Regions from separate parts of the Homo sapiens genome. Here regions 2, 3, 4, 5, 6 and 7 are each linked to region 1. Evidence: promoter capture Hi-C in 16 types of primary human blood cells and fetal thymus (Javierre and others, 2016). All regions are on one chromosome and are shown on one strand. The core of a region is centred on a gene start or on the middle of the fragment in contact, and the rest is flanking DNA. Distances in the headings are between cores, read along the strand shown. Region 1 holds the start of FXR2 (FMR1 autosomal homolog 2). Region 2 holds the start of TRL-TAG1-1 (tRNA-Leu (anticodon TAG) 1-1). Region 3 has its middle 20 kb from the start of ALOX15B. Region 4 holds the start of ALOX15B (arachidonate 15-lipoxygenase type B). Region 5 holds the start of DVL2 (dishevelled segment polarity protein 2). Region 6 holds the start of CTDNEP1 (CTD nuclear envelope phosphatase 1). Region 7 holds the start of SLC2A4 (solute carrier family 2 member 4).

Region 1 (3,470 bases), core at 608-3,107:
GCAACTGAAGTACAGGCAGAAACCACCCAAGAGAAATTACAAGACCCTCTGCAGTTATAGAAAAATATGACTTAGAGAAGGAGTCAAAGAAAGACATTTCCAAGGGCATGAGAAACTAGAGAGGACTACAGTGGGGGAAAAAGGCCTGAGGGGAACTGAAGGAAAGGGGGAAGGGGGATCCACTCTTAACAAGTGATGCCATGGGAAGGTATCTCTTCCCCAGCTCCCCAGGGTGAAATCAAAGAATGAGACAGAAATCAGGAGAGTCTCTAGGACAATTCCAGGCATCAAATCCAAGAGGTTCAGAATACCAACAGTCACACAAAGAAAAACTCTTGGGAGGCAAGAAAGGGCTCTCTCTGGCTTAATCTAAATGGGAAAAAAATGTCCTAGAAAATAGATTCAGAGCAGATAAGGAAGGTGGTATTATAAGGAGTTCTAAGGAACCAAATCCTGGGCAAAGGGGGAGGTGAAATAAGGAAGGGTCTTTGAAAGATGATCCCGTCTTCCAAAAAAGGTTGTCAGATTCCCGAACTGGGATAGTTGGCCAAGAGTCTTCAAGAAGTGGAAATCTTAAGATAAACAGAAGGGAACCTCATAAGCTTCCTTTCAGAGATCCTTTTAGAGATTATGACTATGAAGCTTACATGCCTCAAGACGAAGAAACTATATGAATGACCTGAAGGTATCTGAGGTCTAAGTGAGACCTCAAATCCATTCCTGAGTAGAATGGTAGAGCAGTGGGTCTTGAGATCAAGGTGTGGTGGGGAGAGAGACTTGCGAAAGATGCCACCTTATGGCTGGCTGGGAAGCAACTTGACTGATCCAACCCAGGGTTCCTGAGGTCAAAGATGCCAAACGTCGTAAATGGATCTGACCATTTCTCCTTGGCTTGGGAACCGGAATATAAGATGAAAGTGGGGTGAGTGTTCCAGAGCCAGTAGGCAGAGGCCTCTCTGAGGAAGATGAAAGGATCTTTTACGGGACAGAGGGCCTTCCCAAAGGGACCGTGTGGAAGAAAGACAATTCTCCATGTGCTTGGATCGTGGGGAAGATGTGATTAAGGTCTAAGGTATGTCTTCCACCAGACAACGGACACAGTCAATTAGAAGCTGGGTAAAGGGGTCTCTCCTGCGGAGCGGGGAGCGCCAAGCCAGGGACAATAATGGCCTGAAGTTCATTCTCCCGGAGATGGGGGTAGAAGCAGGTGCAGGTGCCTTAGAGGGGTCAAAAATAAGAGGAACAGGGTTCACTCTAAGCGGTCTCCCAGGGAAGGCTGCGGGTTGGAGCAAGGGTCCAAGATTCTAAGGGCCAGGACTCAGCTCCAGAAGCTCGATCCCGCCCCACGCGTTCCTGCTCCGGCCAGGGGAGGGGGCTAAGGACCGGCGTCCCCAGTCGGCGCGCCGTCTCACCTTGTAGAAGGCCCCGTTGGAGCCGCGCACCTCGACGGGCAGTCCCGGCTCCACATCCCCCCCAGAGGCCAGGCCGCCCATGGCGCCGCCACCGCCTCCGACTCCCCCGGCGGCGGCTGCAGCAGCAGTCTGAGTGCGGGCCGGGCCAGGCCCCCGGCGTCTCCCCGGAGGAGGAGCCGGAGGGGGAGCCGCGGGGGGCGGGAGCCGGGCCGGCCCCACGGCGGCCCTGCCACAGCCAACGAGCAGGGGGCCGGGGCCGGGCCGCTCCCCGTCCGCCGCCGCCGCCTTGGTCTCCGCCACCGTGAGGGAAACGGCCGCCGCCGCCGCTGCCTTCGTCACCTCAGCTTCCGCCCGCCGCCGCCCCCGCTGCTGCCTCAGTCCCGGGACCCGCTGCTGCCGCTGCCGCTCCACAGCCTCCACCTCCCCCTGCCACCGCCGCCTACTGCGCAGGCGCACCGGGCACCCGCCCGCTGCGCGCGGGGCCCCGAGGGCCACCGCGCAGGCGTCAAGGTTAGAGCCCCAGCTAGCGCCAGCTAGCGCATCGGGGCTTCCACATTCCCTTTCACTCTCTCACTCCCCCTCCTGGTCGCTTGCTAGCGCTTGCGCAGAACAAGATTAGCCTTCTTTCTTCACCGCTCCACCGCCCAGCCACCCCGTCTCTTCCTTTCCCCGCCCCACAACACTGAGAACCAACCAATCAGGGGGAGGGAGGGGCCGGGCTCGCTCAGTCCGATTGGGCGGCGTCCGCACAGTCACACAGCGCTCAGGCCACACCCACTCCGCCGCCGCTGGCCCCACCGGGCTTGGACAAGTTAGGGATGGGCATGCGCCTGAACGACTGCTTGGTCACTTTCCCCACCTTTGTCTTTCTTGGTGCGCACGCTCCAAAAAGAAAAAAAAAAGAAGAGGAGTCGCCGCAAGGAAAAAGGTGCTTGGTGCGCACGCGCTGAGCTTTACCCTCTTCGCGTATGCATCGCCGATATTTTAAGAATCTGTAACTCTCTACTGTAGTAGATTTAACAGTCATGGCTCTTACCTTGAAGAGATTGTGATACAATGAAAGTTTTGGCCGGGCGCGGTGGCTCACGCCTGTAATCCCAGCGCTCTGGGAGGCCGAGGCAGGTGGATCACCTGAGGTCCTCGGATCACCTGAGGTCAGGGGTTCGAGACCAGCGTGGCCAAAATGGTGAAACCCACCCCCCCCCCCACCCCGCATCTAATAAAATACAAAAATTAGCCGGGCGTGGTGACACGCGCCTGTAATCCCAGATACTCGGGAGGCTGAGGCAGGAGACTACCTTGAACCTGGGAGGCAGAAGTTGCAGTGAGCCAAGATCGCACCATTGCACTCCAGCCTGGGCGACAGAGCAAGACTCAGTCTCAAAAAAAAAAAAAAAAGAAAGAAAGAATAGAAAGAAAGCTTTAAGAATAGTTTCAGACGGGCGCTGTGGCTCACTCCTGTAATCCCAGCACTTTAGGAGGCTCAGGCGGTGGATCACTTGAGCCCAAAAGTTTGACACCAGCCTCAACAGGGCGAAACCCTGTTTCTACTAAAAATACAAAAATTAGGACGGGCGCGGTGGCTCAGGCCTGTAATCCCAGCACTTTGGGAGGCCGAGATCACGGGCGGGCGGATCACGAGGTCAGGAGATGGAGACCATTCTGGCCAACATGGTGAAACCTCGTCTCTACTAAAATACAAAAAATTAGCCGTGGTAGTTCCAGCTACTCGGAAGGAGTCCCAGCTACTCAGGAGGCTGAGGCAGGAGAATCGCTTGAACCTAGGAAGGTGGAGGTTGCAGTGAGTGGATATCATGCCACCACACTCCAGCCTGGGCAATGAGTGAAATTTCTTCTTTAAAAATAATAATAATGGCAGGGCGCGGTGGCTCATGCCTATAATCCCAACACTTTGGGAGGCCGAGACGGGCGGATCACGAGGTCAGGAGATCGAGACCATCCTGGCTAACACGGTGAAACCCCATCTCAACTAAAAATACAAAAAAAAAAAAAAAAAAAAAAAATTAGCTGGGCGTGGTGGCGGGCGCCTGTAGTCCC
Region 2 (3,470 bases), core at 248-2,747, 510 kb after region 1:
ATGACCCAAGATAATACGACAAAAAAAAAAAGTAAACTAGGACACTACCAATTATTTGTGCTTTTCCTACCGGATAATTGAGTCCTATAACACAGTGTTAAGAGAACGTACAATAAATTATTTAAATATGTTGGAAGTTGAGCTAACATTTGAAAACATGTTAAAATAGAGATGTTATGAAGAAACGAAATAATAGAGATGTTATGAAGAAACGAAATATTGCTTCAGCAGTTACCATCAGGTCTTAGCTTCTGGGATGGATGCAGGCCTATGATCTCTCTGGAAGACCAAACACGGAAGATGATGGTGAAACCATTACCAGGGGAATTCGTAAAATTACTTTCTGCATGTAAATAGGTGTAACCTCACAGAACTGTTAACAGAACTGTAGCAGGTGCGTAATCCACCAGAAAAACTCCAGCCTGGCAGCGGTGGGATTCGAACCCACGCCTCCGAAGAGACTGGAGCCTAAATCCAGCGCCTTAGACCGCTCGGCCACGCTACCTGCACGAAAACTTACTGTCCCCGTTGTCCTCCTAAGAGACTAGAAGTAAGGAATGGGGCAAATCTTAAGAGTGCCAAATTGATTCGTCTCCTTTTCCACATCTTTTAGACTGGAAATGAAGAACCATCGAGACTGTGGACCGCATAGCAGCAGATGGCAGAACAGATAAACGAGAAGAGACAAAAACACACAGAAATTTACAACAAAACTAGTTTATTTGGGTGGGACTATATCTGGGAGTGGGGAGCGCCTGAGCCGGAAACACCCCCCAAGCGGGCAGCCGGAGCTCTGCACTCGCTCGCTCAGCCATTTTCGGTTGCTCTCCCTCCCTGTTTTTTCGACCCATGTGCGCCCTCTCTCTCACCTGGCTAACATGCTTTGCGCCCGCTACCTCTACCTGGCTTGGCCTCTGAGATCCAAACCGCGCCCTCCTGGCATGTCCCGCCCAAGTCCCTTAGCCCCGCTCCCCAACCCTGCCCCATTCCCACTCTAGTACCCGTAAGCTACAAGACGCCGCCGTTCGTCGGGTGGCTCTGTGGCGCAATGGATAGCGCATTGGACTTCTAGTGACGAATAGAGCAATTCAAAGGTTGTGGGTTCGAATCCCACCAGAGTCGATTTTATTTCAATTTTTCCTTTTTATCCGTTTTTTTCTTAAAGGCCCCCATCCCTTCTCCCCCTACCCTATCTCTCTCTTTCCACCTGGTTTCAATTTCGATCTCAGTTCCCGCTCTGCTCTCTTCTTTACTTACCTGTCTGCCCCGGGGCTTGGGCCATGGAGAGCAGGACTGAGGGTGGGAGACAGAAGGGAAGGGAAAGTGGGCGTGGACGTCGAGATAAAGGCAGGCCCCTGGCTCGGGGACACACGGGGATTTAATAACCACTTTATTCCATGCACTAGGGACTCGGGAAGGGACTGGGACTGGGCTGAGGGGCAGAGAGAGTACAATCCTAGACGCAAGGGAGAAGTTGGGGCAGGGAAAAGGGACAGGAACCAGGGAAATATATATTTATATAGATACTCTAATATAGACCACATCTCACCCGCGCGCTGAGCCCGCGCGCCCCACTGCCCTCCCCAACACCTGCTCGCCCGGACGCCCGGGTCCCTCTGCTGCCCTCGGGCTGGAGTCTCTACCCCACCCCTAGACCCCGCCCCCACCACCCCCCAAGGCTCAGGGCCAAGGTCTCCAGAAAGCGGGCGGCGGGGGCAGCGGGGCCTTGGGCGCCCCGTCTTGTCTGTGAGGCGGCGGTGGCGGCGGCAGCAGTCCGGTGAGGGGCGCCGGCGCGCCAGAATCCCCGGCGCGCGGGGAGCAGAGGGATGGGGACCATGCGCAGCGCGGGCTAGGGTGGCCCTGGTGCACTGGGGGGCGCTGGTGCAGCGCAGGGCCAAGGGCCGGTGCGGCGGGGTCCAGGGATGGGCGCGGCGCTGGAGGCCTCGGATCTACCGGCTTGGGCCGGGGCGGTTTGGGGCGCAGATAGCCGTGCAGCGCGGAGAAGAGCTGGGCGCGGGCGGCCGGGCTGGCGTCGTGCGCGAAGGCCGCCAAGCGAAGCAGGCACTCGCGGAAACCGGACAAGTAGCAGCTGGCGAGCGCCTCGGCGTCCTGGACTGGGGACCGGGGAACCCCTGGAGCCGCGGCGGCTGGTGCGGCCGGCGGGAGCACAGGTGGGCAGGGCAGGGGCCCGGCAGGGGTGAGGGAAGGGGCGGGGCGCAGAGATACCAAGGCCGGACAGGCGCACAGAGACAGGAAGCCAGATGGACGGAAAGAGGGAGAAAATGAGGGAGACACAGAGACAGACACGCGCGGGTGTTATTAACCTCGCCTCGGAGCAGAACCGGCCACTCCCCAAGCCCACCATCCACCGCAGGGCCCGCCCACTCTGCCCCGGCCGGAGCCTCCTGGCGTCCCCCCTCCCTCCCTCCGCTGCCCCACCCCCGCGCTGTACCCGGGGGCTCCACCCGGCTTCGCTCCCTCAAGTAGCCCACGGCGAACTCCAATATCTCCGCTTTCTCCAGCTTCGGGTTCCGGAGGTTCTACAGACGGGAGGGGAGGGCGCAGAGACAGAAAGGGGTGGGGAGAAAGGGGGAAAGTGGCAGGGGGAAGAAGGGAGGGACGGATGCGGGAGCTGGTGGTGCCCCCGATCGCATTTGCGCACTGCCCACAGAACGCGCGACCAAATGCGGAGTGGAGATGACCAAGGAAAGTCCTGGCCCACCCTGAGACGAAACTGTCCAATCCTAGGGGTTGGAACCAATGCCCAACGCGTGAGGAGGAGATTTGAAACCGCAACCCAGGGAATGAAATTAACCACCCGACATAACAGAGGCTGGCTCATCAGAGGCTGGCTGTGGGGGAGGGGGAACCGGACACTTAGAGACCCAAAGGGTGAAACTGACCGACCCCGGGAGCGAAATTTACAGAACCAGGCGTGAAACTTACAGACCCGAGGGGTGGCGAAGAAGATCGCGTTCTGAGAGCGAGTGGGGGTCTGGGATGGAATTCCAAAGGCGGGACTCGGGTGAGGATGCCTTGGGGCCAGGGTTGCCAACCAAGCTTGTGTCCCCACCCCAGTGGGAAGCCCTGGGACGCGGAAACGGGAAGCTTGGGGACCTAGGGCTAGCGGAGGGACTGACCTGGTCCCGGGTCCGCTCCAGCAGCAGCAGCCTCAGCTCTTCCAGGCTGCGGTTGATGCGGTCCCGGCGCCGCTTCTCCACAAGCGGCTTGAGCATCTGCGACCAGCGAGAAAAGGAGAGCGGGCCGACCAGACCGAGACTCAGTGCGGCCGCCCCGGCGTCGGATCCCGCCGCTGGGAGAGCCCGGCTTCCACCCCGGCCACAAGACCCCAGATTGCCTAGGGCCGGCCCCATTCGATCCCTCTCCGCTCCCCCTCCCAATGCCCCTAGATCAGTTTCTGTAGCTCGCCTCCCCGGATCTTCGCATTCTCCTCTCTCAGTCTCGTCCTC
Region 3 (3,470 bases), core at 310-2,809, 440 kb after region 1:
CTGGCCTTTGCAATCTCCACGTTGCGATGGATCCTTGGACCCACTTTTGTTAACTCTTAAACTTTGTGTCTTTGTCTTTATTTCTTTTCTCATTCCCTCGTCTCCACCGGGAAGGGGAGAGCCTGCGGGTGGTGTATCAGGCAGGTTCCCCTACATCTTTGGCACCCAACACGGTCTCCTTGAACCCAGGTGAAGTTACACCTGAGCGTGGTCGTTGTGAAGAACGGTCTGTCCAGGAACTCCCGAGAACGTGTGGTCGGCCTTGCGGTAAGCTTGTGCACTCGGAGCATTCCAGGGACACCATGGGACAATCCAAAAGTAAACATTCTGCATATTTACATTTTATTAAGCTCCTCTTAAAGAGGGCAGGAATTAAGGCTAGCACAGAAAATTTGATTACTCTGTTTCCAACAGTAGAGCAATATCGTCCTTGGTTTCCTGAACATGGTACCATGGACTTCAAAGATTGGGAACAGGTGGGAATTGCCTTAAAACAAGTTTGTAAGGAAGGAAAATTTATCCCCCTAACAGCCTGGTCAAACTGGGCTATAGTTAAAGCAGCCTCGGAACCGTTTCAATCGGAAAATGAGGCTTATCCTCCAGCAGAAAGAATTTCTGCAGAGGAAGGTGGTGATGCTGCTGAAGGAGGAGAGGATAGTGAAGAAGATTTTGAGGAAAATACAGACAAACCTGGAGATGAGTTAATTTCTTTTGAGGAGCACGTGGGACCTTCAGCTGCTCCTAAAATAGAGAAGCCATATATGCCAAGATGTTTAAAACAAAGAAGGGCCTTGAGGAGCAGTCGGCTCCTCATTGGGATCATCCGGAGTGGCCGCCTCCAATAAAGCAATGTAGCTTGGAGCCTTGGAGGTCTGAATCTCAAATTTGCCCTGTTTCACGAATGAATGAATTGTGGCCTCAGGAACCACGAGCGCATGGTGTAGCACCAGTACAACATAAGGCTGCACTGCCATCTAATGTTAATGAATCGCCATTACAGTTTACTATTCGGCAGGCTAGATTAGCCGGAGATCTTGATGCCTGGCAGTTTGCAGTAGTTTTGCAACCCCCACGACAGCAAGGTGGAGCCCATCAAGCGGTATGGGAACCATTTTCTTTTAAGCTGCTCAAAGATCTTAAAGCAGCTGTTGGTCAGTATGGTCCCAATTCGCCTTTCATCCGATCGCTATTGCAATCTGTGGCTCAGAATAAGCTATTGACTCCGTGTGATTGGGAGATTTTAACGAAAGTTACACTTTCGCCCTCCCAATTTCTTCAGTTTAAGACTTGGTGGACCGACGAGGCTCAAAATCAAGATCGAAAAAACCGTGCTGCTAATCCTGCTATTGCCATTACATTTGAACAACTTCTAGGAATAGGGGGTCAATGGGGAACTGTAAACAACCATCAGGACTTCGAGATGATGCCATTGAACAAATTCGCAATTGCTGTTTGAGGGCATGGGAGAAAATTCAGGATCTGGGAACTACTTATCAGTCTTTTAATTCTATTAGACAAGGCTCAAAGGAACCATATCCTGATTTCATTGCTCGCCTTCAAGACGCAGCACAGAAGGCTCTCACTGATGAAAGTGCCAGGAAGGCCGGGTGCGGTGGCTCATGCCTGTAATCCCAGCACTTTGGGAGGCCGAGGTGGGCGGATCACCTGAGGTCGGGAGTTGGAGACCAGCCTGACCAACATGGAGAAACCCCGTCTCTACTAAAAATATAAAAATTAGCCGGGCGTGATGGCACATGTCTGTAATCCCAGCTACTCAGGAGGCTGAGGCAGGAGAATTGCTTGAACCCAGGAGGCGGAGGTTGCGGTGAGCCGAGATCACGCCACTGCACTCCAGCCTGGGTAACAAGAGCGAAACTCCGCCTCAAAAAAAAAAAAAAAAAAAGAAAGAAAGAAAGAAAGTGCCAGGAAGGTGATTGTAGAATTATTGGCTTGTGAGAATACTAACCCTGAATGCCAGTCAGCTATTCACCCAGTGAAAGGAAAGGTTCCGGTGGGAGTTGATGTGATTAATGAATATATCAGGGCATGTAATGGAGTTGGTGGAATCATGCATAAGGCTATGATAATGGTTCAAGCCACGACAGAGTTAAAAGTGGGAGGTCCAATTAAAAACTTTTCAGGCAATTGTTACAATTGTGGGCAATTTGGACACACAAAAAAGGAACGTAAGAACAAATCGAACAAACAGGCAAGATATAATCAAATAAAAGAACCACCTGGCTTATGTCCCAGGTGCCAGAAGGGTAAACATTGGGCTAATCAGTGTCACTTCAAATTTGACAAAAATGGCCAACCGTTACAACCGCAGTCGGGAAACAGGAAGAGGGGCCAGCCTCAGGCCCCGCTCCAAACGGGGGCATTCTCACTCCAGCAGTTGGTCCCTCAGTCGGTCATTGCCTCTAGTCCAACCACCATCATTGTCTCTTGCCCAACCACCACAGTAACACAATTGGCGCCAGCTACAGCAGGGAGTACAGGCTTAGATTTATGTTTCCCAAAAGCTATCTCTCTGCTTCCAGGGAAATCCCCTCAAAAAGTCCCCACTGGAGTATTTGGCCCTTTACCTGATGGACAGTTGGACTTGTTTTAGGAACATCTAGTCTAAACTTAAAAGGAGTTCAGATTCATACTGGGCTGATTGATTCAGATTTTGTGGGAGAAATTCAATTGGTTATTAGTTCCAGTATTCCTTGGAGTGCAAACCCAGGAGATAGAATTGCTCAGCTGTTGTTATTACCTTATGTAATAGTAGAAAAAAGTACAGTAAAAAGAGAAAGTGGTTTTGGCAGTACTGACAGTGAAGGAAAAGCAGCCTATTGAGTAAATCAAGCTTCTAAAAACAGACCTGTGTGCACAATGATTCAGGGAAAACAGTTTGAAGGACTGGTAGACACAGGTGCTAATATTTCAATTATAGCTCTAAATCAGTGGCCAAAAGCGTGGCCCCGACAAAAGGCTTCTATGGGCTTGATTGGAGTAGGCACAGCATCTGAAGTCTATCAAAGTGCTACAATTTTACATCGTTTAAGACCAGATGGGCAGGAAGTCACCATCCAACCTATGATTACTTTCATTCCCATTAATTTGTAGGGGAGAGATTTGTTACAGCAATGGGGTACAGAAATCACCATTCCCCCTGCAATTTACAGTCCTGAGAGCCAAAGAATGATGACCAAAATGGGATATATTCCTGGGAAAGGATTAGGAAAAAAATGAGGACGGAATAACCCAGCCGATTGAGGTCTCAGTTAAATTTGACCGAAGAGGAATTGGATATCCTTCTTAGGTGCGGCCACTGTTGAGCCTCCAAAGCCCATTGCATTAAAACGGAAAACTCCAAAACCTGTTTGGGTTGATCAGTGGCCGCTTCCTCAACAAAAACTGGAGGCATTACATTCATTGGCAAAAGAACAATTAGACAAAGGACATATTGAACCATCTTTTTCACC
Region 4 (3,470 bases), core at 287-2,786, 420 kb after region 1:
AAATATCAGAGGACCTTAGGGCACAGCTTGTGCCTCTTCTCTTCTCTACTTATAGGATATTCTCTGCCTAGTGATCTCCACCAGCCTGTGGTATAGATGTACCTGTGTGCTTGTGACTCAAAGATGCACACCTGCAGTCCTGAGCTCTATGCCCAGACGTGGGTTCTCCACTTGGATGTCTAATGGCCATCTCAAACTTAGCATCTCCAGACCGAAAACCCCAAATCTGTTATGTTATTCCCCCAAAGCCCAAATCCATAACTTCCCCTTGGCATCTCTCCCCCAAATCCCTCCCTCACTGCACTCTTGCCTTTCCCTCCTCCAACAAGCCAAGCTTTTCCTAACCACAGGGCCTCTTCAGGAACAGTTTCCTCTGCACAAAACTCTGTTCCCCAGACAGATCCTTTCACCTCCTCTGAGGCTCTGAACGCCTCCCTTCCCACCTCTGCTTCTCACTCCTTCACATTAGTCTGTTTCATTTCCTTCATTGCACTTATTATCATCTGAAATTATGTGTTGGTTTACTTATTTTCTCTCACACTTGATTTTTTTTTTTTAGACCGAGATTTGCTCTGTCGCCCATGCTGGAGTGCAATGGCACAACTTCACCTCACTGAAACCTCCGCCTTCCGGGTTCAAGCTATTCTCCTGCCTCAGCCTCCTGAGTAGCTGGGACTACAGGCGCCCGCCACCACGCTTGGCTAATTTTTTTGTATTTTTAGTAGAGATGGGGTTTCACCATGTTGGCCAGCAACTGTGCCTGGCCTCACACTTGATTTTTAATCTCCATGAGAGCAAGCACTAGGTCTTGCCTGGGCCTTTATCAATAGCAGTGAGCATAGCACCTGGCACAGAGGTAGTTCTGAACATTAATTATTGAATGAAATAAAATAATGAATGTAGGCTGGGCGCGGTGGCTCACGCCTGTAATCCCAGCACTTTGGGAGGCCGAGGCAGGCGGATCATGAGGTCAAGAGATCAAGATCATCCTGGCCTACATGGTGGAACCCCGTCTCTACTAAAATACAAAAATTAGCTGGGCATGGTGGCACTCGCCTGTTGTCTCAGCTACTGGGGAGGCTGAGGTAGGAGAATCACTTGAACCCAGGAGGAGGAGGTTCCAGTGAGCCGAGATCATGCTGCTGCACTCCAGCCTGGCGACAGAGCAAGCCTCTGTCTCAAAAATAAATAAATAAATAAATTTTAAAAATAATGAACGCAGGCCCAAGAAGAGTTGTGGGAAATGGGGTGATATTTTTGCATAGACTTCTAAGGCTAAGAAGGAAAACAAACAGACGTGGTGGGCACAAATCTACCCCCACCCCAACTGGGTCCCAACTCTAGGCTCTCTGGCCTGGCACCACCACTGAAAGGCCCCGTTCCCCAAACCTCAGGGTATTCTTAGTCCCTCCTGTTCCCAGCGCTGCCAATCCCCCGCCCACCCCCACTTTAGTTGCGTGTTCCAGCCTCTCCGCCCCGCCCCTCCCCGCCCTGAAACGGACGTGCTTTTTAGAGGAGTCCACTGGGCTTGGAGTCAGTGGCAATAACCAGGGGCAATAACCAGGCGTGTCCCAGGGGGGAGCCCCGCTCTGCAGCCCTGTGCGCCGTAGAGAGCTGGACTTAGGCTGGCAGCATGGCCGAGTTCAGGGTCAGGGTGTCCACCGGAGAAGCCTTCGGGGCTGGCACATGGGACAAAGTGTCTGTCAGCATCGTGGGGACCCGGGGAGAGAGCCCCCCACTGCCCCTGGACAATCTCGGCAAGGAGTTCACTGCGGGCGCTGTGAGTGCGTGGGAGTGGATGGGGTGGAGGTGAAGGGGGCGAGCAGGAGGGTCCGGCCTGACGCATACTTAACCTCCCCTCAGGAGGAGGACTTCCAGGTGACGCTCCCGGAGGACGTAGGCCGAGTGCTGCTGCTGCGCGTGCACAAGGCGCCCCCAGTGCTGCCCCTGCTGGGGCCCCTGGCCCCGGATGCCTGGTTCTGCCGCTGGTTCCAGCTGACACCGCCGCGGGGCGGCCACCTCCTCTTCCCCTGCTACCAGTGGCTGGAGGGGGCGGGGACCCTGGTGCTGCAGGAGGGTACAGGTGAGGGGCGGGCCGGGCTGGGGCTGCAGGGGGAGCACAGGAAGGGGTAGGGGACTGGGGGTTGGGGAGAAGGGCAGGTGAAATGGAGAGGTGAGCTGGTGTGGCCACAGAGTAGCGGGCAGAGGAGAGGGAATGGCGGAGCCTTGGGGAGCGGGAGGTAGCAGCCTGGTGTAGGAGAAACTGTACTTATGGGAGGAGGGGACCTGGTAGAGGGTGGCAATCGTGGAGACTGTGTGGCTGGTGGTAGTGATGGTGAGTTTCTCTCCCCACCCCAACCTACTCCCCTTCTCCCACAGCCAAGGTGTCCTGGGCAGACCACCACCCTGTGCTCCAGCAACAGCGCCAGGAGGAGCTTCAGGCCCGGCAGGAGATGTACCAGTGAGGAGGGGGTTACTGATGGGGGAGGGTGTGCCCAAACGATGAGGGGCAGCTTGAGTGTCCTGGTCATGACAGAGATTAAAAGCCCCTGCCTCCACCTCTCCTATCAAAGCTGCTCCTGGGATCAGCAGCGTCTACAGGAACGTATTAGAAATGCAAATTCTCAGGCCACCTCCAACCTACTACGACACTGAGGGTGTAGAGTGGGAATTTTTGTTTTGACAAGCCTTCCAGATGACTCTGGTGGCCACTGATGTTTGAAAAACACTGCTCTAGGGCCAGGTGCCGTGGTGGCTCACACCTGTAATCTCAGCACTTTGGGAGGCTGAGGGAGGCGGATCACTGGAGGTCGGGAGTTCGAGACCAGCCTGGCCAACAGGGCGAAACCCCATCTCTACTAAAAATACAAAAATCAGCTGGGTAGGGTGGCGGGCACCTGTATTCTCAGCTACATGGGAGGCTGAGGCAGAAGAATAGCTTGAACCCGGGTGGTGGAGGTTGCAGTGAGCCGATCACGCCATTGCACTCCAGCATGGGGGACAGAGCAAAACTCCATCTCAAAAAAAGAAAAAAAAAAAGGAAGGAAGGAAAAGGAAGGAAAGAGAGAAAGAAAGAGAGAGAAAGAAAGAAAGAAAGAAAGAAAGAAAGAAAGAAAGAAAGAAAGAAAGAAAAGAAAGAGAAAGAAACTGCTTTAAATGCCTTACCTTTGCTGGTGTCTTCCTTGCCCTGGGACTTTTTCATGCATCGGCTTGTTGTGTCCTCCCAGAAATCTGAGTAGAGCCAGAAACACGCCCTTCAAGCCCCAGGAAACTCACCCTCCAGGGCTAGCAAGGGGTGAGATGGGGGCTCTCTCTGTGCTCTGGGCTCAGCATTGGAGATCACAGGGGAAAACTGGGACTTGGAGATAACAGAGGAGTTGGGGCCGCTAGTGAGGATTCCCTTGGCACAAAGCCAGGAACTGCATTCAGAAACAGATTTTCAAAAGATCTTGATCCGGCCAACTCATCTG
Region 5 (3,470 bases), core at 378-2,877, 380 kb before region 1:
CCAGTCTGGCTAAAACGGTGAAACCCCGTCTCTACTAAAAAATACAAAAAATTAGCCGGGTGTGGTGGCGGACGCCTGTAGTCCCAGCTACTTGGGAGGCTGAGGCAGGAGAATGGCGTGGACCCGGGAGGCAGAGCTTGCAGTGAGCTGAGAATGCGCCACTGCACTCCAGCCTGGGCGACAGAGCGAGACTGTCTCAAAAAAAAAAAAAAAAAAAAGCAGAGGTTGAGGACCCAGAAGGCTCAGCCCCAAAGACCATAAACACAAAAGGGCTTTCTCTGCATTATTTACACGCCAATCTAGTCCAAGATAGCCCTGAATGTCCCAAATTACCCTAGGATAGCCCAATCTATTCTAGCACAGCCTACAATGCCCCCACACGCAGCTGTCTGCACCAGTCTAGATTGGAACATCCCAATACGGCTGCCTGTGCTAGCACAGGCCCCAACAGCCTTGTCTGCCCCTATACCGAGTGCTCCAATAAAACCAAGTCTTGCCCCAAGAGAAACCAGGATTAACCAATACAACCCAGTAGAGTCCATAATGGCCCAAGTGTTTTTTGTTTTTTTTCTGAGACGGAGTCTCGCACTGTCGCCCAGGCTGGAGTGCAGTGGCGCGATCTCGGCTCACTGCAACCTCCGCCTCCCAGGTTCAAGAGATTCTCCCTGCTTCAGCCACCCAAGTAGCTGGGACTACAGGCGCGTGCCCCCACGCCCGGCTAATTTTTTGTATTTTTAGTTAGTAGAGATGGGGTTTCACCGTGTTAGCCAGGATGGCCTCGATCTCCTGACCTCGTGATCCGCCCGCCTCAGCCTCCCAAAGTGCTGGGATTACAGGCGTTACAGGACTCCTGAGAACGTACTAAACAACCAGACAATGGATCAATTTACTCAGTACAGACTAGAATACTCCAACATAAACCAGTATGCCCCCACCTATTCCAGTAAAGCCTAATCTTGTCTAATCTGGTTTAGGATATCCTAGTCTGTCCGTGTGCCTCAATCTATCCAAGCATAACCTTGTCCATCCTGGGATAGTCAACCTACCTCAGCATAGTACAATCTGCTCCACCATAGGCCAGAAAATCCCAGTGTGGCCCAAAGTAGACGTGTGCCCCTCCATGTCGCCCAATCCACTCTAGCAAAGCCCCCGCCGGTCCTATCTAGGCCTTGCGCTCACCCGAAATCCTGATCCATAGACTTGAAAAAGTACTTGGCGCCCGCGGGCCGCTGCAGGACGCTCTTGAAATCGCCGAGGGTGATGCGCTCGGCGGGGACAGGGATCTTCACCAGGTAGGGAGTCTCTTCCTCATCCAGGTGGTAAATCACCTTCGTCTCCCCAACCCCACCGCCCCCAGTGCTGCTACCCGCCATGGTCTCGCCCGCGCGCTCCCGGGCTCCACCGCCCACCCAAAGGGCTAATGGCCCCTGCCGCGCCTGCGCACACCCGCAAACCGACGCGCGAGCGCGGACAGGACTGACCCAGTACGGGAGAGAAGCAAAGGGGAAAAAGCACGGATCTGCGAGGGTGGCGGCGGGGGGCGGGCCGCGGGGTGCGACTCAAAGCCCCGGTCTCAGCGGCCGCCGCGCGCCACCGCCACCGACGCCGCGAGCTTCCTCCAGGTACCCGCCCACCTCTCCTCATGTCACGTGACTTAAAGGCAGCCACCCCGCGCTCCTCAGCCGCCCTCCGTCACGTGATCCCCTCCCAATCACGTGACCGTCTGACTCCGCCTAGTGCCCCCGCCACATGATCGCTGCCTTCAGCAACGGTCTCCCAGCCCCCAAACGTGTACCCCAGCCGAGGTCCTCTGAGCACCCAGGCTAAGCTGGCCTGTGCCTTCAGGAAACGGACCATCGGCTCCCACCCCGCTTTACCCCACCCACGATGGAGCACGAAGCAACTCTGACCCGCAGGAGTGTGCGTGCAGGGAGTGAAGGTGGGGACTGTGGGGGTTCCTAGACTCGAGTGGGGAGGGCCAAATACAATGAAAGCTCTAAGGTGGCTTACTTGTCTTGGGGTGGGAAAGGCCCAGTGCTGTGATATCTTCAGATTGGACTTTGAGACGTGGGTTTCAGCCCCACCTCCAGCTAGTCTTCAGCCACCAAAGCCTCCCTCCCGAGCAGGACAGTGAGGGCTATAAACACAAAAGAGCCCACTCTGCTTTATTTACAACACGCAGGCTGTCTGTACAAACAGCGGCCGATATTATTAAAAACAAAAGAGGTGAGTGAGAATCGTCACCTTTCTGCTTTCCTTCCTCACTTGGCCAGGCTCTAGTACTCCACCTTTGAGCTGCCATGCCCAATAGGGGAAGTCCAAAATTAAAAATACAACCGGTGTAGAAGAAAATAAATGGGGAGTGAAATAGAAGAAAAGATGAGGGAGGGGAGTGCTAATATTTACACTAGAGTTTTATAGACAACTGTCCCATTCCATCCCAATTCCAATCCTGACCCAGAAAGTGATGGTGGCAGGTCCAAGAGACAGAGATTATGTGTCGGGACACAGACAGCCTCCCATCCCCAACCGTAATGGATTCAATTTCAAGTCCACAGAGTGGGGAGGAAGGATAGGGTGGGAAAGTGAGACACTCATTTTCAAACAAGTCTCCCTTGAGAATTCCTGCCTTGAAGTGCAGACAGTATCCAAGCTCCAGGGGATAGGCTGAGGACCCTGAGGCTCAGTTCCCAAATCATGTTGTCATTTGGAAGTTCCAGGCTAAAGTTGGTGCCATCAGGGCTCTCCAGATTTGGGAGGCCCCCCTAACCGCCGGGCCTCTGGCCTCAGTTCCTTGCATTTCTGGCAATAAAAGAAGTCGGGGACGTTGGTCTTCTTAATCTTAGCACAGGAGAGGTGGATCCACGTCCCACACAGGCTGCACTCAATCATGGGCCGCCCTGCAAAGGGCTTTCGACAGTAACATGTGATCAGATCCCATGAGTCATCACCTGGGGAAAAAAAGGTTTGTTTGGTATTCTGCCTGAGCTGTTGGATCCACAACACCCTCAAACCCCTCGCCCCAGCCCGAACCTCTCACCTGATTCTACCATGATGTCCTCGTCCATGACCCGCATCTCGCCTTCACTGGAGCTGGCATCTCCATCTTGGCTTGTTTCAGTGCTGCCCACCTCCTTGCTTTCACTGTCAGCAGGAGGGACTCCTTCAGGGTGCACTGTGGCAGGGGGCCTAGGAGCCTCAGGGGGTGTTGGCAGCACAGGGACTGGGGCTTCACCCCCTACCACTGTTGCCATCTCTTCTTCTTCTTCCTCTTCCTCCTCTTCCTCCTCCTCTTCAGAGTCTGTATCACTGGGGGGTGCCTGGGGAGGCCCAGGAGGTGGGAGTCTATCCCCCCGTTCTGCCTTTTTTAACTTCCGCTTCTTGCTCTTCTTGATTCGAGATCTCTTTTCCCCATCCCCAGGAGTTGGCCGAGGCCTCCGAAGCACCCCAAAGCCAGCCCCAGCTCCTGG
Region 6 (3,470 bases), core at 971-3,470, 360 kb before region 1:
GAGCAATTTTGGAAGTAACCTGTGGATGAGCTGAAGCACCACTCCGTATGCCCAGAAAACTGATGTGTTGGAGCGAGAACGTCAGAGAAGATGGCAGTCAACCCATAAAGAAAACCGCTGGAGGCCGGGTGCAGTGGCTCAATCCCAGTACTTTTGTGAGGCCAAGGCGGGCAGATCACTTGAGGTCAGGAGTTTGAGACCATCCTGGCCAACATGGTGAAAACCCGTTTCTACTAAAATTACAAAAATTAGCCAGGTGTGGTGGCAGGTGCCTGTAATCCCAGCTATTCGAGAGGCTGAAGCAGGAGAATCGCTTGAACCCAGGAAGTGGAGGTTGCAGTGAGCGGAGATGGCACCACTGCACTCCAGCCTGGGCGACAAAGCGAGACTGTCTCAGAAAAGAAAAGAAAACCCCAGGAGATAGCCCCACACATATCCCAGCATCTCTGACCCTAAATTTTTCTTGGCTCCTAGCTCTTGTCTCGGGGGAATAGCGCTGCTGCCTACAGCCACAACCATCCTGTACTGTTCGCGCCCTAAATCAGGAAGTGGAAGCAGACTGGTAAAGGACAGAATGAACCCAAGGCCAGACCCATTCTCCCAAATCAGTTAAATCAACCACCACTACCACTGAGGGCTTTCTGGAAATTCTCTGGACCCCAGGTCACCCCAACCTGGGTTTATTCTTTCAAATTGTATTGAGGTATGCTAAGGGGTACAGACCACAGTACAGACCCAGAACCTGTGTCTCCGCTTACTAAATTCTCCCCAGACTCCTTCCGAGGATTCTCCCTGGTGGTGGTGAGACCACAAGAGCACATTCATTTAAAGTGCTGTTAGCTGAAGGACCTCTGACCTTGGAGAAAAGCTAAGGGAGAGGGGACCCAGAGATGCTTGGGTCCATCCGGACAGTTTCCCTCAGAATGCTAGGCTCTCCTGGAGAAGCAAACGTCCTCATTTTCAAGCCCTACAACTGCCCAGCGCTGTCCTCTGACAGGGACACCCAAACTTCAATGGTGGGCACAGCACCCACCTTGAACTCCCTCCCACAATTAAAGAGGCCCATCGTAAAAGCATCTGCTTTAGTCTTCAATAAATCCAGATACCTACACTCACACTATGAAATAAATTTTCACAGCCTTTTTGGAGGAATTCTCTTAATGGGAACCGCAGGCGTTTCTCCTTCACACCCAGGGCTTTCCCAAGTTCCCGTCCTTGTTTGTAACGTATGCCCTCCCACCCACCTCCACCCTTGACACACAAGTCTGTCTCTTCCTTGTTATAGGACCAAACACACACCGAGGTTCCAAATAGGGTCTTTCCCAAGCCCACATCCACAGATCCGGCTGTCATCAAACAGGTGTTCCCCGCCTCTTGGTTTCTTTAGCAACAACTCCAGCTTTCTTAAAGAGCGCCCCACCCACCACCTTAGCCCCCAAGAGTTGCCAAATCCTGTCCCATCTAGCCCCATCAAAACCCCCAAGGGCAAGGTTCTATTACAAGGGTCTCCCACCTCGCCCCGCTTAGGGTGCCCAATTCTCTGGCGAGAAAAGCCCCAGCCAGGATTCCCTTCCTAGGCCCAAACAGAGGCCCGACACTCCGAAAACCCCTGAGCACCACGGACAGATGTCCCCAACACCGCCAGACGTCCCCAACACCGCCAGCGCCCACCCTGGCTCACCGTGCGGATCTGCCTCCGCAGAAGGTAAATGAAGAAGCTCCAGAGCTTGGCGGCGAAGGCCACGAACGTGCGCAGCCCCAGCAGACACTGCGTCCGCATCATCCCGATGACCCCGGCACCGCCGGCCCCGGGGCCCCCGCGGCCCAGCTCCGCCAGCCCCCCGGGGGCAGCCCCCCGCCGCCGGGAGGGGGAACGGGGGCCCCGAGTGGCAGGAGAGGCTGCAGAGAGGGGCACGGAGCGGGCGGCTCAGAAAGCCACCCCTGGCGAGGGTAAAGCCCAGCGGAACGGGGAGCTGGGGGACAGGCGTGGGCAGCCCGCGGGGGCCCACATGGGCTGGGAGTGGCACCGACGGCTTCGGGGAGGTTGCGGGCCGAGACAGGTAGGGCTAGGATGGGGTCCTCCGAGACCTGGAGGGAAGGGGAAGGATAATTGGGGGAGGGGGCAGTGGGGGAGGGGGCTAGGGAAAAGGGAGGAAGGGAAAAGGGAAGGGGAGGGGGGGAAAGCAGAGAGTGGCCCGCTGCGCAGGCGCGCTAGGGGGCTGCTCGCAGGAACGGGGAGGGCGGGGGCAGCGGCGCGCAAAGGGCCGCGGCAGCGGAGAACGGGCCTGCAGAGCGAAGGAGCAGGGAAGGAGGGGGAGGGGGAGCCGGAGGGCGCAGAGCGCTGGGCCGGAGCGGCCTCCCCCTCCCCGAGCTCGGGGGTCCTTTAGCCGCTGGGGACCGGGGCTGCAGCCTCTGCAGCTGGGTTTCCCACTCTGACAGGCGCCATTTTACCGTCCAAAGGACTCCCTCTTCCTGTCTTTCCCCCTCCTCTTCCCCTTTGACACTACTTCCGGTGGTGACGTGTATTCGCTTCACCGGGACTAAGTTCCTCCTGCGCGGTCTATGGCGGGTAGGTATAAGGAAAGCCAAAAGCACTCCAAGCGAGGCTGCAGTATTGCGCACGCGCAGAAGGTGGCCGCGGGGCGGGGCCTGAGGCGAAGCAGGCCCCGCCTCAAACTGCGTGGGCGGGGAGAGTGACGTCACTTGGCCCGCGCTTAGGGCCCTCGCGGGGGGCTTGTGGGTCCTCCTCCCCCTCCCACTGACAACTGCCCCAACTGCTCTTCCCGCCCCGGTCACAGTGAAAATGTAGACGGGGTCGTTGTCCGTACGACTGTGCGCCAGGGCTCGGGGAGGGGCGCCCTCCGCGTGAGCGCCCCCCTGGGAATATTGAACATAATCACCTCTCATTCCAGACTATGTTAGGTCTTAATGGTGGGAGGACGCCCGAGTGCTCGGCCCGTTTCACCCCGAGGAGGAAGGACACTGGGTCATGACGCCATCAGAGGGCGCCAGAGCAGGGACCGGACGCGAGTTGGAGATGTTGGACTCGCTGTTGGCCTTGGGCGGCCTGGTGCTGCTTCGGGGTGAGAGCCAGAGGCACGGTGGCGGGGCGGGGGGTGCGGTTCGGGCCTGGCTGAGGGGACGGAAGTGGGCAGGAAGGGCCAGGGGTCACAGGCTAGGTGTGGAAATCGCGACGGGTTCGCGAAGGCGGTAATCCCAGCGCTCTCATACCCTTTATCCGTCCCTCGCTCTGCAGATTCCGTGGAGTGGGAGGGGCGCAGTCTCTTGAAGGCGCTTGTCAAGAAATCTGCACTGTGGTGAGTATCCCACAGTGTCTCCCCGGCCTACCCTGGATAGGGCACCTGTGCCCACTCTTTGACAATCCCTTCTCATCTCTGCCTTAGTGGGGAGCAAGTGCATATCCTGGGCTGTGAAGTGAGCGAGGAAGAGTTTCGTGAAGGTTTTGACTC
Region 7 (3,470 bases), core at 1-2,500, 330 kb before region 1:
AGGAGGAATCGAGCCTGACTTCTACCATAGGGGTGACTGGGCGGGTAATTCATTGAAATAAGGAAGTTAGGAGGAGGAGCAGGTTTGGACATGCTGATCACTAGAGCTGCCACATCCGGGCGGTAACGAACACCTGGATCTGCAGCTCCAGAGAAGGGCCTGGGTCAGATGTCACTGAAGCCCTATGGTGGCGGAAAGGCGAGAAATAGTGGGTTGAGATTCCAAGTGCAATCCACTGCGGCTCCTCGCTCGCCCTCCAGGTGGCAGCACAACCCTGCGCTTCCGAAGCCCGTTTTCTGAGCCAGACACTCTCCACGCTCTGGGTATTTCGGCTTCTCTCTCCCCACACGCCGACCCTAGGTCGCGCACTTTCTGCCTGGCAGAATTTGGCCGAGGATCCAAACCCGGAGCAGCCTCCAGAGAGCGTGTCGTTCACGCGGCCAGCATATGCTCAGAGACCTCAGAGGCTCAGAGACCTCAGGGCTGGTGGTGTGGTCGGTTGTGACCACTTGTCCCTCGGACCGGCTCCAGGAACCAACCTGGGGAATGTGTGTAGGGGAAGGGCGGGATAGACAGTGCCCGGAGCAGGGAGGCGCTGAAAGACAGGACCAAGCAGCCCGGCCACCAGACCCGTTGTGGGAACGGAATTTCCTGGCCCCCAGGGCCACACTCGCGTGGGAAGCATGTCGCGGACTCTTTAAGGCGTCATCTCCCTGTCTCTCCGCCCCCGCCTGGGACAGGCCGGGACGCCCGGGACCTGACATTTGGAGGCTCCCAACGTGGGAGCTAAAAATAGCAGCCCCGGGTTACTTTGGGGCATTGCTCCTCTCCCAACCCGCGCGCCGGCTCGCGAGCCGTCTCAGGCCGCTGGAGTTTCCCCGGGGCAAGTACACCTGGCCCGTCCTCTCCTCTCAGACCCCACTGTCCAGACCCGCAGAGTTTAAGATGCTTCTGCAGCCCGGGATCCTAGCTGGTGGGCGGAGTCCTAACACGTGGGTGGGCGGGGCCTTTTGTTCCAGGGACTCTTTTCTCAAAACTTCCCAGTCGGAGGCTGGCGGGAACCCGAGAGGCGTGTCTCGCCAGCCACGCGGAGGGGCGTGGCCTCATTGGCCCGCCCCACCAACTCCAGCCAAACTCTAAACCCCAGGCGGAGGGGGCGTGGCCTTCTGGGGTGTGCGGGCTCCTGGCCAATGGGTGCTGTGAAGGGCGTGGCCCGCGGGGGCAGGAGCGAGGTGGCGGGGGCTTCTCGCGTCTTTTCCCCCAGCCCCGCTCCACCAGATCCGCGGGAGCCCCACTGCTCTCCGGGTCCTTGGCTTGTGGCTGTGGGTCCCATCGGGCCCGCCCTCGCACGTCACTCCGGGACCCCCGCGGCCTCCGCAGGTTCTGCGCTCCAGGCCGGAGTCAGAGACTCCAGGATCGGTTCTTTCATCTTCGCCGCCCCTGCGCGTCCAGCTCTTCTAAGACGAGATGCCGTCGGGCTTCCAACAGATAGGCTCCGAAGTAGGATTCATCATGAGGGGGCGGGGCGGGGGGGCACGGGTCCCGCTTTTCTTGGGCTGGGGTCGCGGTTGGGGTCAGCTGGGGGTGGTTCCTGCGCAGGCGCAGGGGGTGAAGGTAGGGGGCTGGCTATTTATACCCGGCCTGGACAACCCGTGACTGTGAGATTCCAATCCTACCAAAAGGCAGAGTGGGTCTGGAGGGCCTTTCGGGGCACAGGCAGCAAGTGGATTCTGCGAGCCAGGGTTCACCCCCTTGCCTAGTAGGCGGCGCGGCGCTCCGGAATCGGGGACACCCTGCCCTCGATCCGACTCGGGAAAGCAGATCCAGGCGGGTCTTGCCCTCCGGGAGCTGTCCGTCCGTCTTCGCTCACGGGCAGTGTTTCGAGGACCGGAGGCTCTCCGTGGGCCCCCACCCCCACTCCTGGCCGCCCTCCAGGACGCTGAACTTTCCCTTGGCCCCATGGTTGGTGGAGGGGCAGAGGGGACTGTCAGCCCCCCCTCCTCCAGCTCAGGTTTCCGCTTGGAGACAGTCTGTGCCGCCAGCGAGCGGCCACCACTGCCACCGCCCCTCACACTACCTTCCTGCCCTCCTCCCCTGGGCATGGCTCTCCCAGGCAGAACCCCTGGACGGCCCTCCCTGCACGGAGGTTAGAGGGGGAGGGCAGGCCACGACGTAGATAGAGAAGGCCACCCCTAGATGACCGGGATGTCCTTTCTGGAACAGCACTTCTTGGTCCTGTTGGGGGCCTCCTGGAGCTGGCTGACAGAACCCCCAGAGGGGAGGGAAGAGGACAGTGGCTGATGATAATAATGCACGTGTTAATTTATGAAACCAGCACTGTCAAGGATATTGTTAACATGTGATGTTGATTTTCACAACACTCTCACAGATAGGTAGGCAAGGCAGGCAACATCACCCCCATCTCACAGAGGACACTCAGGTTCGGGGCAGGGAAGTGACTTGGCCAAGGTCACACAAATCTGAGCTCTTAAGGCCAAGCCTGTCTCAAGGTCACAGAAGAATTTTGAGACAAGTTCTCAAACATTTCTCTGCCTTATGGACCCAAACATCCAGTTTCTCCTTTATGCCCAGGTTGCAGTTCAGCTCCTGTTTACATTGAGATCTTTGTGCAATTCCTAATATGGCCCAGTTTCCCTCACCCAACATGTTGGGTGGAGCCCAGTATCTTCAGGCTCCAGCTGGGCCCGGGCCCCTAGCGGAAGGAAAAAAATCATGGTTCCATGTGACATGCTGTGTCTTTGTGTCTGCCTGTTCAGGATGGGGAACCCCCTCAGCAGCGAGTGACTGGGACCCTGGTCCTTGCTGTGTTCTCTGCGGTGCTTGGCTCCCTGCAGTTTGGGTACAACATTGGGGTCATCAATGCCCCTCAGAAGGTGAGGGCCTGCAGCTGGCAGGGTGGGGGTACCCAAACGAGGAGGACAGGTGTCTCGGGGGTGGTGGAAAGGGGACGGTCTGCAGGAAATCTGTCCTCTGCTGTCCCCCAGGTGATTGAACAGAGCTACAATGAGACGTGGCTGGGGAGGCAGGGGCCTGAGGGACCCAGCTCCATCCCTCCAGGCACCCTCACCACCCTCTGGGCCCTCTCCGTGGCCATCTTTTCCGTGGGCGGCATGATTTCCTCCTTCCTCATTGGTATCATCTCTCAGTGGCTTGGAAGGTTCGCAGCTGGAGGGCAGGGGTGGGGGAAACAGGAAGGGAGCCACTGCTGGGTGCCCTCACCCTCACAGCCTCACTCTGTCTGCCTGCCAGGAAAAGGGCCATGCTGGTCAACAATGTCCTGGCGGTGCTGGGGGGCAGCCTCATGGGCCTGGCCAATGCTGCTGCCTCCTATGAAATGCTCATCCTTGGACGATTCCTCATTGGCGCCTACTCAGGTACTCACGGGCACCACAGCCCTGCCTAGCGCCCTGTTCTCTTTCACCATGCCTGGGCTTTCAGATGGGAATGGA

What was found. The method cuts DNA at HindIII sites, captures the fragments that hold promoters and counts their contacts. A CHiCAGO score of 5 or more calls a contact.
Region 2: a fragment that was not itself captured here is called in contact with the fragment with the promoter of FXR2 in region 1 in 2 of 17 cell types (naive CD4 T cells and erythroblasts); the score reaches 7.3 in naive CD4 T cells.
Region 3: a contact is called between a fragment that was not itself captured here and the fragment with the promoter of FXR2 in region 1, in 1 of 17 cell types (total CD8 T cells). The highest score is 6.2, in total CD8 T cells.
Region 4: a contact is called between the fragment with the promoter of ALOX15B here and the fragment with the promoter of FXR2 in region 1, in 1 of 17 cell types (activated CD4 T cells). The highest score is 5.1, in activated CD4 T cells.
Region 5: the fragment with the promoter of DVL2 here is called in contact with the fragment with the promoter of FXR2 in region 1 in 5 of 17 cell types (fetal thymus, neutrophils, total B cells and 2 more); the score reaches 7.5 in fetal thymus.
Region 6: the fragment with the promoter of CTDNEP1 here is called in contact with the fragment with the promoter of FXR2 in region 1 in 6 of 17 cell types (naive B cells, fetal thymus, total CD8 T cells and 3 more); the score reaches 9.2 in naive B cells.
Region 7: a contact is called between the fragment with the promoter of SLC2A4 here and the fragment with the promoter of FXR2 in region 1, in 1 of 17 cell types (fetal thymus). The highest score is 5.5, in fetal thymus.

Annotation. Positions count from the first base shown.
Region 1 is chr17:7,613,040-7,616,509 of GRCh38, forward strand. FXR2 (FMR1 autosomal homolog 2) reads right to left here and starts at 1,858. Exons shown (of 17, transcript NM_004860.4): 1 at 1,413-1,858. The coding sequence starts at 1,493. It also overlaps a transcript of SHBG not described here. RefSeq lists silencers at 1,413-1,942, 2,053-2,102. The HindIII fragment of the contact is 2,190 bases long and covers 641-2,830 here.
Region 2 is chr17:8,119,891-8,123,360 of GRCh38, forward strand. HES7 (hes family bHLH transcription factor 7) reads right to left here. Exons shown (of 4, transcript NM_001165967.2): 2 at 3,141-3,236; 3 at 2,453-2,540; 4 at 702-2,147. The coding sequence ends at 1,681. TRL-TAG1-1 (tRNA-Leu (anticodon TAG) 1-1) reads right to left here and starts at 505; the gene lies at 424-505. It overlaps TRR-TCT2-1 (tRNA-Arg (anticodon TCT) 2-1), which reads left to right and starts at 1,035; the gene lies at 1,035-1,122. RefSeq lists silencers at 351-560, 1,501-1,960, 2,181-2,290. The HindIII fragment of the contact is 3,122 bases long and covers 1-3,058 here.
Region 3 is chr17:8,056,882-8,060,351 of GRCh38, forward strand. No RefSeq gene overlaps it. Among named protein-coding and RNA genes, the nearest start is that of ALOX15B, 20 kb to the left of the region's middle. RefSeq lists enhancers at 796-1,313, 797-866. The HindIII fragment of the contact is 2,579 bases long and covers 271-2,849 here.
Region 4 is chr17:8,037,523-8,040,992 of GRCh38, forward strand. ALOX15B (arachidonate 15-lipoxygenase type B) reads left to right here and starts at 1,537. Exons shown (of 14, transcript NM_001141.3): 1 at 1,537-1,780; 2 at 1,864-2,083; 3 at 2,380-2,461. The coding sequence starts at 1,634. The HindIII fragment of the contact is 10,323 bases long and covers 333-3,470 here.
Region 5 is chr17:7,232,890-7,236,359 of GRCh38, forward strand. It overlaps DVL2 (dishevelled segment polarity protein 2), which reads right to left and starts at 1,628. Exons shown (of 15, transcript NM_004422.3): 1 at 1,180-1,628. The coding sequence starts at 1,373. PHF23 (PHD finger protein 23) reads right to left here. Exons shown (of 5, transcript NM_024297.3): 4 at 3,041-3,470; 5 at 2,149-2,951. The coding sequence ends at 2,737. RefSeq lists a silencer at 1,366-1,665 and an enhancer at 1,776-1,825. The HindIII fragment of the contact is 14,867 bases long and covers 1-3,470 here.
Region 6 is chr17:7,249,514-7,252,983 of GRCh38, forward strand. It overlaps CTDNEP1 (CTD nuclear envelope phosphatase 1), which reads right to left and starts at 2,221. Exons shown (of 8, transcript NM_001143775.2): 1 at 1,682-2,221. The coding sequence starts at 1,783. ELP5 (elongator acetyltransferase complex subunit 5) reads left to right here and starts at 2,702. Exons shown (of 8, transcript NM_203414.3): 1 at 2,702-3,083; 2 at 3,257-3,317; 3 at 3,405-3,470. The coding sequence starts at 3,038. RefSeq lists enhancers at 1,824-2,411, 2,412-3,000, 2,869-3,088 and silencers at 1,949-2,068, 2,139-2,348, 3,119-3,358. The HindIII fragment of the contact is 9,547 bases long and covers 1-3,470 here.
Region 7 is chr17:7,280,468-7,283,937 of GRCh38, forward strand. It overlaps SLC2A4 (solute carrier family 2 member 4), which reads left to right and starts at 1,251. Exons shown (of 11, transcript NM_001042.3): 1 at 1,251-1,500; 2 at 2,778-2,894; 3 at 3,006-3,178; 4 at 3,271-3,395. The coding sequence starts at 1,468. RefSeq lists a silencer at 1,215-1,364 and an enhancer at 1,497-2,484. The HindIII fragment of the contact is 20,977 bases long and covers 1-3,470 here.